Regions from separate parts of the Homo sapiens genome. Here regions 2, 3 and 4 are each linked to region 1. The links are contacts of gene promoters, found by promoter capture Hi-C in blood cells and fetal thymus (Javierre and others, 2016). All regions are on one chromosome and are shown on one strand. The core of a region is centred on a gene start or on the middle of the fragment in contact, and the rest is flanking DNA. Distances in the headings are between cores, read along the strand shown.

What was found. The method cuts DNA at HindIII sites, captures the fragments that hold promoters and counts their contacts. A CHiCAGO score of 5 or more calls a contact.
Region 2: a fragment that was not itself captured here is called in contact with the fragment with the promoter of SOWAHD in region 1 in 3 of 17 cell types (naive CD4 T cells, naive B cells and total CD8 T cells); the score reaches 8.3 in naive CD4 T cells.
Region 3: a fragment that was not itself captured here is called in contact with the fragment with the promoter of SOWAHD in region 1 in 2 of 17 cell types (total CD4 T cells and total B cells); the score reaches 5.7 in total CD4 T cells.
Region 4: the fragment with the promoter of NKRF here is called in contact with the fragment with the promoter of SOWAHD in region 1 in 6 of 17 cell types (naive B cells, total B cells, total CD8 T cells and 3 more); the score reaches 7.0 in naive B cells.

What each region holds. Positions count from the first base shown.
Region 1 is chrX:119,756,663-119,760,109 of GRCh38, reverse strand. SOWAHD (sosondowah ankyrin repeat domain family member D) reads right to left here and starts at 1,522. Exons shown (of 1, transcript NM_001105576.3): 1 at 1-1,522. The coding sequence starts at 1,442. The coding sequence ends at 495. RefSeq lists silencers at 1,213-1,512, 1,623-1,772. The HindIII fragment of the contact is 2,232 bases long and covers 180-2,411 here.
Region 2 is chrX:119,508,543-119,511,989 of GRCh38, reverse strand. No RefSeq gene overlaps it. Among named protein-coding and RNA genes, the nearest start is that of SLC25A5-AS1, 41 kb to the right of the region's middle. The HindIII fragment of the contact is 1,153 bases long and covers 1,208-2,360 here.
Region 3 is chrX:119,543,498-119,546,944 of GRCh38, reverse strand. It overlaps STEEP1 (STING1 ER exit protein 1), which reads left to right. Exons shown (of 7, transcript NM_022101.4): 3 at 1,441-1,482; 4 at 2,454-2,592. Among named protein-coding and RNA genes, the nearest start is that of STEEP1, 20 kb to the left of the region's middle. The HindIII fragment of the contact is 9,697 bases long and covers 1-3,447 here.
Region 4 is chrX:119,604,709-119,608,155 of GRCh38, reverse strand. NKRF (NFKB repressing factor) reads left to right here and starts at 1,732. Exons shown (of 4, transcript NR_163972.1): 1 at 1,732-2,425. RefSeq lists an enhancer at 1,499-1,608 and a silencer at 2,149-2,198. The HindIII fragment of the contact is 11,769 bases long and covers 1-3,447 here.

The DNA.
Region 1 (3,447 bases), core at 273-2,772:
GAGGAGGTTGTCAGAGGCTGACTCTACCCGCACCCCAAGACCCATTAATGGCCGAGCGAGGCCGGCAGAGTTAGGCGTTTTCTCTGCATTGGTGGTTTACAATCTTAACTCATTCTTCTAGCGAATGTTTCCTAATAAACCCAGCGCGTCGGCCTGCCCAGAAATGGCCCCTGGAAGCTTAACTTGCCCTCTCCCAAGCAGGACCACGCTCCCTGCTCCCAACTCCTTAGTCCTGTAGCTTTGGAACTCGGAGCCAGGCCAGCTTGGTCCTTCACTCTCTCTTGGTGAGGTGGTGCCCGAGTCCCCGGGTCCTCCAGGCCGGTGGTTACAGGAGACCTGAGACAAGTACCTGAGTCGGACCCCGACGTGTTCTGTTCCTTGCAGGCCCAAGCAGCGTCCAAGGCGCCTCTCCTTCGGTGGAACCCGGGACAACCCAGGACCTAGCCATCGCCACAGTGTCACAGCCCCTCCTAGCTCTCCAGTCTCTGTCCCTGTCAACGGTCCTGGAATGAGGGGAACAGATGGCGGAAAAGGCTATGCATTTGCGCCACCCGGCTGCCCGCGGTGTCCTTCGCCTTGGTCCGCGACGCTGCCACTCTCCTGCTTGTCTCCACAGCCGTCGCGCCCACTGCGCTCGCGGCCCTCCACGCAGTGGTGCCACTGCTGTTGTTGTTCAGGTTGGTGCACCCGCTGCCGCTCTCCATCTCCCATTCCTCGGCTCCCGACAGCTCCCGCAACCTCCAAGGCGCGTCGGGCCGCAGGTAGTGGCAGGCCCGGTGGCCGCTGTGGTCGCGGCGCGTAGCGTCAGCACCCAGGGCGCCCACCAGCACCTTGATGACCATGTCGTGGCCCTGAAGGGCCGCCAGGTGGAGGGGCGTGAGGCCGCCGCTGCCTGGGGCGCTCACGTCGAGCCTCAGCCCCCGGCGTAGGGCGAAATCGTGTACCAGAATGAGCTCCTCGTGGCGCCCGTGCTTGGCCAGCCAGTGCAGAACCGAGTAGCCGGTGATCGGGTCGCCCCGCAGCAGCAGCTCCGGCTCAGCCTCCAGCAGCTCCCGCAGCACCTCATAGCGGCCCTCGGCGGCTGCCAGAATCCACGCGTGCTCCCGCGGTTCCAGGCACAGCCTGCTGCTGCCCGGCCCACTCGGCCCGCCCAGCTCCTCGGCGCGCTCCTCCGACAGCCACCCCGCAGGAGCCGCCCGCTGCAGCCCCAGCAGTTCCCGCAGCGCTCCCCGCCGGCGCCCTGAGCCCGCTGCAGAGTGCATCAGCGTGCCTGGGAAGGGGTGCTCCCGGGAGGCGGCGGCTGCGGCTTTGCCCCAGTACCTGCCCAGGCTACCAGTGTCCGCTCTCGAGGGGCGGGGCTGCGGGGCGCACCGCAGGCTCTGCGAGGTCGGCGCGAGAGAGGCCGTGGGTGCCCGGTTCGCGGCCCCTCCGAGCTGGGCCATGGTCTTGAAGCTGCCGCCGCGGCCGTCCCAGTGTCCAGCGTTAGCTGCCCTTCCCGGGCCCCAACGGGAGAGGAACTGGCGCTGGCGTTGGGGAAGGAAGCTGCTTGAGCAATTGGGTTCGGAGGGAGGGAGCAAAGGAGAGGAGGAGGAGGAGGAGGAGGAGGAGGGAGGGAGCTAGGGGAGGGCCCCCGCGCAGGCCTTGGGGGGCGTGGAGGGGTGTGAGCTCCAGCCAAGTCCCCAGGGCAAGCCCAGCTCCACTTCCCTGGGTACCGCCGCCTCTGCAGCTCCCCCGGGTCGCGGGCGGTCCCACCCCAAACGGCCAGGTGAGCTCGGCAGCCCCGCCTCCAGCACCGAAGGGCGGGCGCGGGGACTGGCTGGGAGCTCGCCTGCGGCCCTGGAAGCCGCGGTTCTCAGCATCCCAGCCGGGGCTAGAGTGTAGAGGCGCGAGGGCGCCCCTTCCGCAGCGGGCCGAGCTCGGCTTCCAGCCACGGTCTCCCAAAGCGCGGTCCTGGAGCTCCGAGGCTCTGGCTCCCCGCCCCCTTCCTTCGCCCTTCCCTCTTATCTCTTCAGGAGTCTCCCTGCACTTTGTCCCGGAGTTGCCATTGTCCCGCGCCTAGCATTCACGCAGGCAGCTCGACTGCCCCATGTGACTGGCTCGTCTGCCTGCCTTGCCCTTTGTGTGGCCTTGACCCTCGCCGCAGCACCCGGGGCTGCCCAGGATTCCAGCAGAGAAGCCCAAGACCAGGGTCCAGGCTGACGCTCTTCCAGGGAACTCAGGAGGGATATTCCCCTTCTGCACCGCCCTCTCTGTCCTGCTCTCCACCCTCTTCCCTCCCGTCAATTTTCCCAGGTTGGCTTGGAGAAGCAGCTACAGGTGAATCTGAGCCGGCGCCGCAGGAGCGCCCTGTTCTCTTTAGAGATGCATCCCTGCTCTCTCCCCAGGGCCCCGCTTTCTACAAATTCAAAGCTTAGGGGCTTTTTAAAAAAGGATATTTTTTCTTTTTCACTCCTAATACCAGCGTACTCTTTGCTCTTCCCTTCCCTTAGTAAATAGTGGTTCTTGCCTCCACACCCCCAGCATCTTAAGGAGCTCAGTCAGTGAGCAACGGGGAGCCATAGAAGATTGTTGAGCCGGGGAGAGACACAGCCATGATGGAGGTTGTGTTAAAAAGGTGATTTGGGAGGTGCAGAGGCAGGAAGTCGGAAGACTGTTCCAGCAGTCTAGGCCAAGGGGGATGGAGGCTCAGGCCAAATCAGCCCACTCCCTCGGGGCCACCTGTGGCAGCAGTGATAGAAGGTATCGGAAGCTTTTCTTCCTTGGCCCTCACGTATTTGGAACAAGTCCTAAATATCTAGAGCTTTCCTTCAGAACAGTTTATGCATTTGTAATTTGGTTTTGAACATTTACTATGTGCCAGGCACTGTGCTTGTTGCGTTATATATGTTAACTCTTTTAATCCTCCCAGTGACCTCAAGTGCTGGGAATCATTACTGTCCCCAGTTTGCAGAGAGGTTAGGCTACTTGCTCAAGGTCACCCAGCAGGAAGTGGCAGAGCAGGTCTGTGCGACACCATAGCCTTTGTTCTGGTACACAGGAACTGGCATTCAAGCCTGGCTTATCAACTGCAAATCACATACAAGCCCCAAATTCCAGCCAAAAGGATAGACTTGTAACGTGAGCGTATCTATAACTTACACTCCTCTGCCTGGAAGAGCTTCTATGTAGTGAAGTTCTTTTCTTTCAAGGTTGCGCTTAGTTTCCACCTCTAGCAAGCCTCCTCTGATTATCCCAGCCCAAAGTGATCCCTCTCTTTCCCCAGCCCTGTGTTTCTGCTACTTCTTTGGCCCCAAGACTGCCTTGTGTTACATCTCTCTCCCCTTGCTCTCATATGCCAATTAAACTATAAACTCTTGGACAGCTATGTCATACTATCCTTGTGCACCTAGTAGTTATCCAAGAAATATTTGTTACCTTGTTCTGGTTTGGCAGGCTGGGAAAATGTGA
Region 2 (3,447 bases), core at 535-3,034, 250 kb after region 1:
GTGAGCAGAGGTCATGCCACTGCACTCCAGCCTGGGTGACAGAGCAAGACTCCATCTCAAAATAAAATAAAATAATAAGATATATATATTTCTATATATTTCTATATATATATTTCTATATATAGAAATATATATATTTTTATATATATATATAGCATCCCCAAGATTTAGAATCAGACAGACCTGGGTTTGAATCTTGATTTTTCTTCTTATTAACTGTGACCTCAGGCAAGTGGCTTAACTTCTCTAGGCCTCAGTCTCCTCATTAATAGAATGGGGAATAATAATACCTGCTTTTCTGGCTGTTCTGAGGATTTATTCACTCATTTGAAAGATAGTGGCATGCCTGTCCTACAGTTGTTACTAGGTTCAGGGGATACAAGAGATTCAACGCCTGGCACATAGTAAGTGCTGAATTAATGATAACTTGTTTTTGAAGGTCATGCCACGAATTTGGACTCAAAATAGCAGGCAGTTGAAAGCATTCTGAAAAGAGAAGTAGTAAGAAAAAAACACTACTTTTTTTTTTTCTTTCTCAGGCAGGGTCTCACTGTTGCCCAGGCTGAGTGCAATGGCACAATCATAGCTCACTGCAGCTTCGACCTCTTGGGTTCAAGCAGTCCTCCTGCCTCAGCCTTCCAAAGTGCTGGGATTACAGGCGTGAGCCACCATGCTCAGCAGGAAAACAATATTGAAGAGGCTTCACCCCTACCTGCAGTGTAGAGGCAGGATTGAAAAATGCCAGCCTTATCATTTTCATAGAGTTGTTCTGAACATCATAAAATAGGGCAGAGCAAGAGGCCTAAGACTAATAAATAGTCGGGAGTTGAACCCATATTGCAACTGGGGACAGGGACTGCTCCTAAAATCATAGGGCCACAGTCTGCCTCTCCCCTGGGAAGCAGCAAGGGGAAGGAGGGGCTGAGAAGAAGCCTTCTGTCTGCTCACTGGAAGCTGAGGGGCTTCATTTTGCCGATCACCTGGCCTGTCTTCGGGCAGTGGTTTCGGGATGTGGGAAGAAGGTGTGGGCGTGCATATGCAGCAGTGAGGATGTTTGAAGGATGTGAGAACACAAGAACATAAAATGCCACCCTGTGGCTGAGCCATGGATTCCTCTGACTCAGACAAGGTCATCATGGAACATGAAGACCCAAATGTCATCTTTGAGTCCTTTGGTAAACTATCAGGTGTGAGTTTATCCAAAGCTTTCAGAAATTGCAGTATTTCTTTTCACCCTGCCTCACCAATTGGGATGTTTTCCACACGTTTTCGCTTCCATTTAAAGATAAGTTATTTTATTAAAAACATACCTCTCTGGAAGAGCTCTACAAGGAGAACTACAAAACACTGCTGAAAGAAATCATAGATGACACAAACAAATGGAAACACATTCTATGCTCATGGATGGGTAGAATCAATATCGTGAAAATGACCATACTGCCCAAAGCAATCTACAGATTCAGTGCAATTCCTATCAAAATACCAACATCATTTTTCACAGAATCAGAAAAAATCCTAAAATTCATATGGAACTAAAAAAGAGCCAGAATAGCCAAAGCAATCCTAAGCAAAAAGAACAAATCTGGAGGTATCACATTACCGGACTTCAAATTATACTACAAGGCTATAGTTACCAAAACAAAATAGTACTGATATAAAAGTAGTTACATTAACTGGGCGCGGTGGCTCACATTTGTAATCCCAGCACTTTGGGAGGCCGAGGCTTGTGGATCACCTGAGGTCAGGAGTTCGAGACTAGGCTGGCCAACATGGTGAAACCTCATCTCTACTGAAAGTACGAAAATTAGCCAGGCATGGTGGTGCGTGCCTGTAATCCTAGCTACTCAGGAGGCTGAGGCAGGAGAATCACTTGAGCCTGGGAGGCAGAGATTGCGGTAGGTCAAGATCACGCCACTGCACTCCAGCCTGGGCAACAGGGAGAGACTGTCTCAAATAATAAAAATAAAATAAAATAAAAGTAGTTATATTAGACCAATGGAACAGAATAGAGAACCCAGAAATAAAGCCAAATACTTACAAACAACTGATATTTGACAAAGCATACGAAAACGTAAGTTGGGGAAAGGATACCCTATTCAATAAATGGTGCTGGGCAAACTGGCTAGCCCCATGTAGAAGAATGAAACTGTATCCCTATCTCTCACCTTATGCAAAAATCAACTTGAGATGGATCAAAGACTTAAATCTAAGACCTGAAATCATAAAAATTCTAGAAGAAAACCTAGGAAAAACTCTTCTGGACATTCTTTGCCTAGGCAGGCAAAGAATTTATGACTAAGACCCGAAAAGCAAATGCCACAAAAACAAAAATAAATGGGACCTAATTAAACTGAAAAGCTTCTTGCACAGCAAAAGAAAAAATCATCAGAGTAAACAGAACCCACAGAATGGAAGAAAATATTTGCAAACTATGCGTCCAACAAAGGAGTAATATACAGAATCTACAAGGAACTCAAACAAATCAGCAAGAAAACAAATAAACAAATAATCCCATTAAAAAGGGGGCAAATGACACGAAGAGACATTTCTCAAAAGAAGATATACAAACGGCCAACACACACATAAAAAATGCTCAACATCACTAATCATCAGGGAAATACAAATTAAAACCATAATGAGATACCACCTTACCCCAGCCAGAATGGCCATTATTATTATTATTATTATTGAGACAGAGTTTTGCTCTTGCCCTCCAGGCTGGAGTGCAGTGGCATGATCTCGGCTCACTGCAACCTCTGCCTCCCGGGTTCAAGCGATTCTCCTGAGGCTGAGGTGTGCGGATCACCTGAGGTCAGGAATACAAGACCAGCCTGGCCAACGTGGTGAAACCCCATCTCTACTAATGATACAAAAATTAGCCAGGCGTGGTGGCAAGCACCTGTAATCCCAGCTACTTGGGAGGCTGACACAGGAGAATCACTTGAACCCGGGAGGCGGAGGTTGCAGTGAGCTGAGATCGAGCCATTGCACTCCAACCTGGGTGACAAGAGCAAAACTCCATCTCCAAACAAAAAAAGAAAAAAAAAGAAAAAGAAAAAGAATGAAATAATGTCTTTTTCGGCAACTTGGATGGAGCTGGAGGCTGTTATTCTAAGTGAAGTAACTCAGGAATGGAAAACCAAATACTGTATGTTCTCACTCAGAAGTGAGAGCTAAGCTATCAGTACACAAAGGCATGTGGAGTGGTATGATGGACACTAGAGACTCAGAAAGGGGAGGGTGGGAGTGGGTGAAGGATAAAAAACTGTAAAATGGATACAATGTATACTACTTGGGTGATGGGTGCACTAAAATCTCAGAATTCACCACTATATAATCCATCCATGTAACCAAAAACCACTTGTACGCCAAAAGCCATTGAAATAAAAAAAATTAAAACAATAAAAAAGGTGAAAAAAAAAGAAAATAAAAACACACCTGTCCAAG
Region 3 (3,447 bases), core at 619-3,118, 210 kb after region 1:
TATATTGCCTATTACAAAGTTGAAACAAGGGGAGGGGAAGTGAAGAGACCAGTCAGGACCGTTTGTTACAGTCGTCCAGGGAGTTGATAATGGTGGTGTAGGCTAAGATAGTGGCAGGAACGTGGAGACAAGCAGACAGATTCAAGGTCTTTTCTTGGAGATAAAAATCCATAGAATTTGCTGATGAAGTAAGTGTGGGAGATGAGGGGAAGAGAAGAATCAAGGATGAGTCCCAGGTTTCTGTTAAACAGCCGTGTGGGTGGAATTGAGTCCTTGTGTATATGACTTGGTGTCTAAGGTGGTATTGTGTGGGCTCTTGAGCTTGACTGCCTGGGCTTAAATTCAACCTCTGCTTCCTAGCTCCACGACTTTGGGCAAGCCATGTAATACTCTGTGGGCCTAGGTTCTTCATTCATAAAGTGGGAATAATAATATGACATACCTCACAGAGTTGTTGTAAGGATTAAATGAGTTAATACATGTATACTTTTTTTTTTTTTTTTTGAGATGGAGTCTCGTTCCGTCACCCAGGCTGGAGTGCAGTGGCGTGAACTCGGCTCACTGCAGCCTCTGCCTTCCAGGTTCAGGTGATTCTCCTGCCTCAGCCTCCTGAGTAGCTGGGATTACAGGCATCCGCCACCACGCCCAGCTAATTTTTATATTTTTAGTAGAGACGGAGTTTCCCCATGTTGGCCAGGATAGTCTCGAACTCCTTACCTCAAATGATCCACCCACCTGGGCCTCCCAAAGTGCTAGGATTGCAGGCGTGAGCCACCGTGCCCAGCCGAGTTAATACATGTATACTTTAGAATAGCTCTTGGCACATAGTAAAGGGTTTATAAGTGGTTGCCGCTATTATTGTTGTTGTTATTACTACAACTACTATTGCTACCTATGATTATGACTACACTGCTCCTCCTCTTCCTCTTCCTTTGTCAGGGAGATACCTGACCTGTATCAGGGGCTCCATAAATGTTTGTTGCAGGAAGGGAGGAATGTTGAACCAATGAGTTGACCTATGAAATGAAAACTTTTTTTTTTTTTTTTTTTTGAGACGGAGTTTCACTCTTGTTGCCCAGGCTGGAGTGCAATGGCTCGCTCTCGGCTCACCGCAACCTCCGCCTCCCAGGTTCAAGCAATTCTCCTGCCTCAGCCTCCCGAGTAGCTGAGATTATAGGCATGCACCACTGCGCCCGGCTAATTTTGTATTTTTAGTAGAGACGGGGTTTCCCCATGTTGAGGCTGGTCTCGAACTCCTGACCTCAGGTGATCCGCCCGCCTCAGCCTCCCAGAGTGCTGGGATTACAGGCGTGAGCCACCGTGCCCGGCCCCCAAATGAAAACTTTTGAAAGGGCCTCTTAGCGTTTGAAGAAATGGGATAGTAAGGTTGATACATAATGAGATTTGTTCATATCTTTTTAACTTCCATTTTCTGTGCAGACCTGAAGGCATTGAACGACAGTACAGGAAGAAATGTGCAAAGTAAGTATTAACAATGTGGGTTTCTCCAAGCATAGGCAAGTAGAGGCATAATGTGTTAGGAAAATAATTATTTGGATACAACTCTCCATTATGTCTTTTTTTTTTTTTTTGAGACAGAGTCTTGCTCTGTCGCCCAGGCTGGAGTGCAGTGGTGCAATCTCAGGTCACCTTAACCTCTGCCTCCTGGGTTTAAGCGATTCTCCTGCCTCAGCCTCTCTAGTAGCTGGGATTACAGGCACATGCCACCATGCCTGGCTAATTTTTGTATTTTAGTAGAGACAGGGTTTCAACATGTTGGTCAGGCTGGTCTCGAACTCCTGACCTGAGTTCATCCGCCCACCTCAGCCTCCAAAACTGCTGGGATTACAGGCCTGAGCCACCTCGTCCGACCCCCATTATGTCTTTATCCTTATCAACTGCCTTCAGACTTCAACTATGCACAAATACCAATATGTTCCCCAAAGAGGCTAGTCAAAGTTGTATCTTTGACCAGCTGGCCAGAAAAATGAATTTTTTTTTTTGAGACAGAGTCTTGCTCTTGTTGCCCAGGCTGGAGTGCAGTGGCATGATCTCCACTCACTGCAACCTCCACCTCCCGGGTTCAAGCAGTTCTCCTGTGTCAACCTCCCGAGTAGCTGGGATTACAGGCACCTGCCACCATGCCTGGCTAATTTTTGTATTTTGAGTAGAGATGGGGTTTTGCCATGTTGGCCAGGCTGGTCTTGAACTCCTGATCTCAGGTGATCCACCTGCCTCGGCCTCCCAAAGTGCTGAGATTACAGGCGTGAGCCACCACGCCCGGCCTAAGTGATTCTTATCAGGTAGAGGTAGTTTTGGGAGACACTGAGAAGAGCCAGTCATTAGTTTATGCCACAAACAGAAATATTCCCAGAGTCTAAGCACACTTTGCAAATTGCTGTTTTGGGAATTTGGATTATGAGACCTCGCAGAAATTCACTGTGTCATTGCAGGTGTGGACTGCCGCTCTTCTACCAATCCCAGCCAAAGAATGCTCCTGTTACCTTCATTGTGGATGGAGCAGTAGTCAAGTTTGGCCAGGGCTTTGGGAAAACGAACATATATACTCAGAAACAAGAGCCTCCTAAGAAGGTAATTACCATTGAAGGAGAGACTGCTTAATATAGCTCTAGATTTAGCTCATGTTTTGAAATAAGATTATAGTGATGAGAAACTGCTCTTTATGGATGTATTCTTTTTATTTCTTTTTCTTTTTTTGTCTTTTTCTTATTTTATTTCTTTTTTCTTTATGGATATATTCTTATACTTTATTTTTATTTTTTAAAAGTTAAAAACGATTTGGGGGGTATATAGATGCACATATTTATGGGGTACATGAGATATTTTGATACAGGTATGCAATGTGTAATCACATCATGGAAAATGGGGTATTCATCCCCTCAAGCATGTGTATGGATGCATTCTTTATTAATCGGGTGCCATTTTTGTGTATAAACAGATGCTATGTAATTGTAACACCTGTTATGTGTTCTCTCTTTCCTACAGTTGCCTCATGACTAAGGTTAGAAATTGTATGGTTTTTACTCACATTAATTTCCTTCAAATTTTCTTCTTTTTATGGAGAGATATCATGTGTTATTTTACAAATTTTTTTTTGAACAATTAAAAACAATGAATTAGGCTAATTAAAAAATATATTCCAAGCTGGGCATGGTGGCTCATGCCTGTAATCCCAGCACTTTGGGAGGCAGAAGTGGGAGGATCACTTGAGGCCAGGAGTTTGAGACCAGCCTGGGCAGCACGGCGAGACCCTATCTCTACAAAAAAAAGTAAATTGGCTGGGTGTGATGGTATTCACCTATAGTTCTAGCTATTCAGGAGACTGAGGCGGGAGGATCACTTTAGCCCAGGAGTTTGAGGTTACAGTCAGCTATGATTGTGCCACTGCACTCCAGCCTGGGTGACAGTAAGACCCTGTCTCTTAAA
Region 4 (3,447 bases), core at 483-2,982, 150 kb after region 1:
ATGTCTGTCTTTCTCTATGGTGGGCATTCATGTTTATTGAGGTAATGTTAGTCTCTAAACCATCAAATCAAAGAATATAGTACTACGAAGGAAGGTTAGAGATAATAAATTCAAGTAATGATTGTACGAGTGAGAAAAATAAGGCCACAGAGGTGAAGTGTCTTGCCGAAGGCTGTAGAGATAGTTGTTGGCAATGATGAGATGAGAATTTAGGTCACCTGACTCCTCATCTAGTGTTCCCCCAGTCATTTGCCTTTGCACTGCTCTGTTTTCTTTCTTTCTTTTTTTTTTGAAACAGAGTCTCACTCTGTTGCCCAGGCTGGAGTGTAGTGGCGCGATATTGGCTCACTGCAACCTCTGCCTCCCGGGTTCAAGCGATTCTCCTGCCTCAGCCTCCGGAGTAGCTGGGATTACAGGCGCCTGCCACCACGCCCGGCTAATTTTTGTATTTTTAGTGGAGACAGGGGTTTCACCATGTTGGCCAGGCTGGTCTCGAACTCCTGACCTCAAGTAATCCTCCTGCCTCGGCCTCCCAAAGTGCTGGGATTACAGGCGTGAGCCACCGCACCCAGCCTGTTTTATTTTCTTCACAGCATGTATCACCTTGTGAACTTTTTAAAAACATTTCGATTGTTACCCCAATAAACATGAATGCCCACCACGGAGAAAGACAGACGTGGAAATAAATTATGAAAGTGTGTAAAGTGCTGTTATCTTCTGCTCCTCTCAGTCTAATACACCCCTAACATAAAGTGTCATATAATTAGAAATACGTCATTAAAGAGTTAAAGATGGTAGTGTGTTAAAGCCACCTCATCCAATGGTCCGGCTCCTGGTGGAACATTTAGTTTTATGCAGGGCTATTTCTCCCCACCAAGATTGTAGTCAATTCCAGGACAACAGAGAAAACCCACTTTCTTTCCTTCTTTTTTGTACTCTTGCTGTATTGAGCACACAGTAGGTGCTGTGTAAATTCCCGCCGACAGACACTCATTGATTAACTGCTTTCGTGACACAGGTTGGCAGATAGGGACTGAAGTTATTGAGTGAAGCTGACTCCGGGTGGAGTGATACATTTGGCTACAGTGATTGAGCGGCTCTACCTTGCAGTACCCTCTTCTGTGGGCCCCTTTTGTATCTTGTAATCTTTTGCACTTAAGTTGATACGTGAAATACAGACTTGCAATCGTGATCAGAACTGTGTAAACAGTATCTGTGTTCGTAATTGGGATACAGTATGGACTTGAAACTGGCTAACTTGAGAAGCGGCGCTGTGGATGATTTTCTTGGCAAGTGTTTCATTTTTACTACGTTTCCGCAGTAAGCTATTACACAAAGCTAATGATGCACGATGCACAGAGCATTTCAAGCTACTCTCTGAAGAAAAGGCACCTCGGGGAGCTGACTGTTTTGTTTTGTTTTAATGTAAAGTCCAGTGCAGACCTAAATCCCTTACAAGGAACATGGTCTCACTGTCGCGCCGCTTAAAAATCCAGGGAAAAGCGTCAGACGAGCCGTGGGCTACCAACATTCATCTGAGGGCACCTTCTAACCATATTCTCGAACCTCAGAGAACCTTCCTAAATTCCCTTTCTGGAGTCCCCGCCCTCCGCTTGTCACCGTAGTGCGTCAAAGGCCCGTAGTCGTCACTGGAGGGAAAAAAGTACGTCGCGCGAGATTCTGCGACGGGATTTGGAAGTTAGGGAACAGCCGCGGCGCAAGCGCACTGGCCTCACAACCCCGGACGGCACGCGGGTAGGTAGGCTAGAACCTAGAGGAGGGGAGCAGAGCGTGCTGGGGTCTTTTATCGCTCTCCGCGCAGTGCGTGGGTCTGCGGATCCGTGGAGGTGCGGAGCCTGACTCGGCCTCCCCGGCTCGCGCGTGAGTGCGGCGGAAGCCCTTCTGCTCCTCCACGAGTTAGAGGAGTGTAGGGGACGTGCATCCCAGTGTCGGGACGCGAGCTCGTGCTCCTCTTTTCCTCCTAACGGTGGCCCCCACGCACACACTCCAGTCCCCCCGAGAGTTGATCTTCTCCCCTCAGCGCGCCCCTCCTTACCCGGCCCCTCCCACCGGCCCCCCGTTTCCGCCCGCTTGCTAGCTGCCTAGCTCGCGGTCCGTAGTCGGCTTCGTCCCTGGGGTCCCTGCTTGGGGGCGGAGAAGATGGCTGGAGGACGTCTGCTGTTGGGGGGCGACTTCCTGTCGCGCCGCCGCTGCCCCCCCTCCCGCCGCCGCCGCTGCCGCCCCTCCCGCCGCCCCCGCCCGAGCCAGTGCTGGAGCAGTGGCGCTATAGCCACGAAAGTGACTGGCAGTGGGCTCTGCGGCGCAGCTTCATCTGTCGGCACCTGCACAGCTATCCCGGGGCTGCCCTCGACCAGCTCCTCGCGCTCTCCGCCGCCTGGACCAACCACGTCTTCCTGGGCTGCAGGTGAGGAAGGTGTGGGTGTCGGGTTAGGGACGGGGGTGAGAGATCGGTGATGGGGGATCGGGTTAGGGACGGCGCTGGAGGGATCGATGATGGTGGTTGGGATAGGGACGGGGGCGGGATGCGGAGGATAGGTTGGAGGCTGGAGATTTGGAGGTGCTGGAGGGCACTAGAGGGATCACTATTGGCCTGGGGGTGGGGTGGCCGACTGTGGTGGCTGGGCATGACATAACAGCTAGGAGGGTGCAGAGATCGCGGAAGCGGCCTCTCCAGGACCAGGGATGGAGATGAAGCAGCGCCTAGAAGAGGATTATTGAGAGGTGGTCATTGTAGTTGGTGGCGGTATTAGAGGACGTGGGGAATGATGAATAGCAGCATCTCGGACCTGCGTAGGGCCTTCCAAGGATGCAGTATCCGCAGAGAATATATTCGACAGTTGGAGTTGTGGGGGAAGGGCGAGGGGACCCCACTGTTCTAGTCTCCTCCTGACCACTCTCTTTTTCCATTCCTCTTAAATACCCCCCTCTACTTGCAGCCCCCTAGCAGGGTCTTACTGTCTTCTCCTGGGGAGGCGGTACGTATCAGCTCTCTGAGCCGCAGCAGCGTCAGCCTTGCTTGTAGATTTGCGCATAATGTGTCTGGACTCAAACAAAGAAATGGATATATCTACTGTAAAAATGGATTGCCCTCTTTTTACCCTAAATGGGATCAGAAGGATTAACATTTGGCTCTGAGTGAGGTTTTAGGTGTGTGTGTCTGTGGTGGGGGTGGGGGTGTGTGTGTGTTTGTTTTTCCCCCCTTTCCTAGAACCTGGTGACGTTTTGAACAGGCCTCTTTGAAAGCTCTTTGCATTCAATGGAGACTGCAGTATGGTTCCAACGCAGCGTGTTTTGTTTGTTTTTTTTTTTTGAAGAGGCTACTTGGACCTCTGTCCTTCAGAACCCCTAAATCGGCCCTATACTAGACTATTCATTCTTTGATAGATTGGGAGACGACTTCTTTTGACATTCCTGCAATCATAGTTT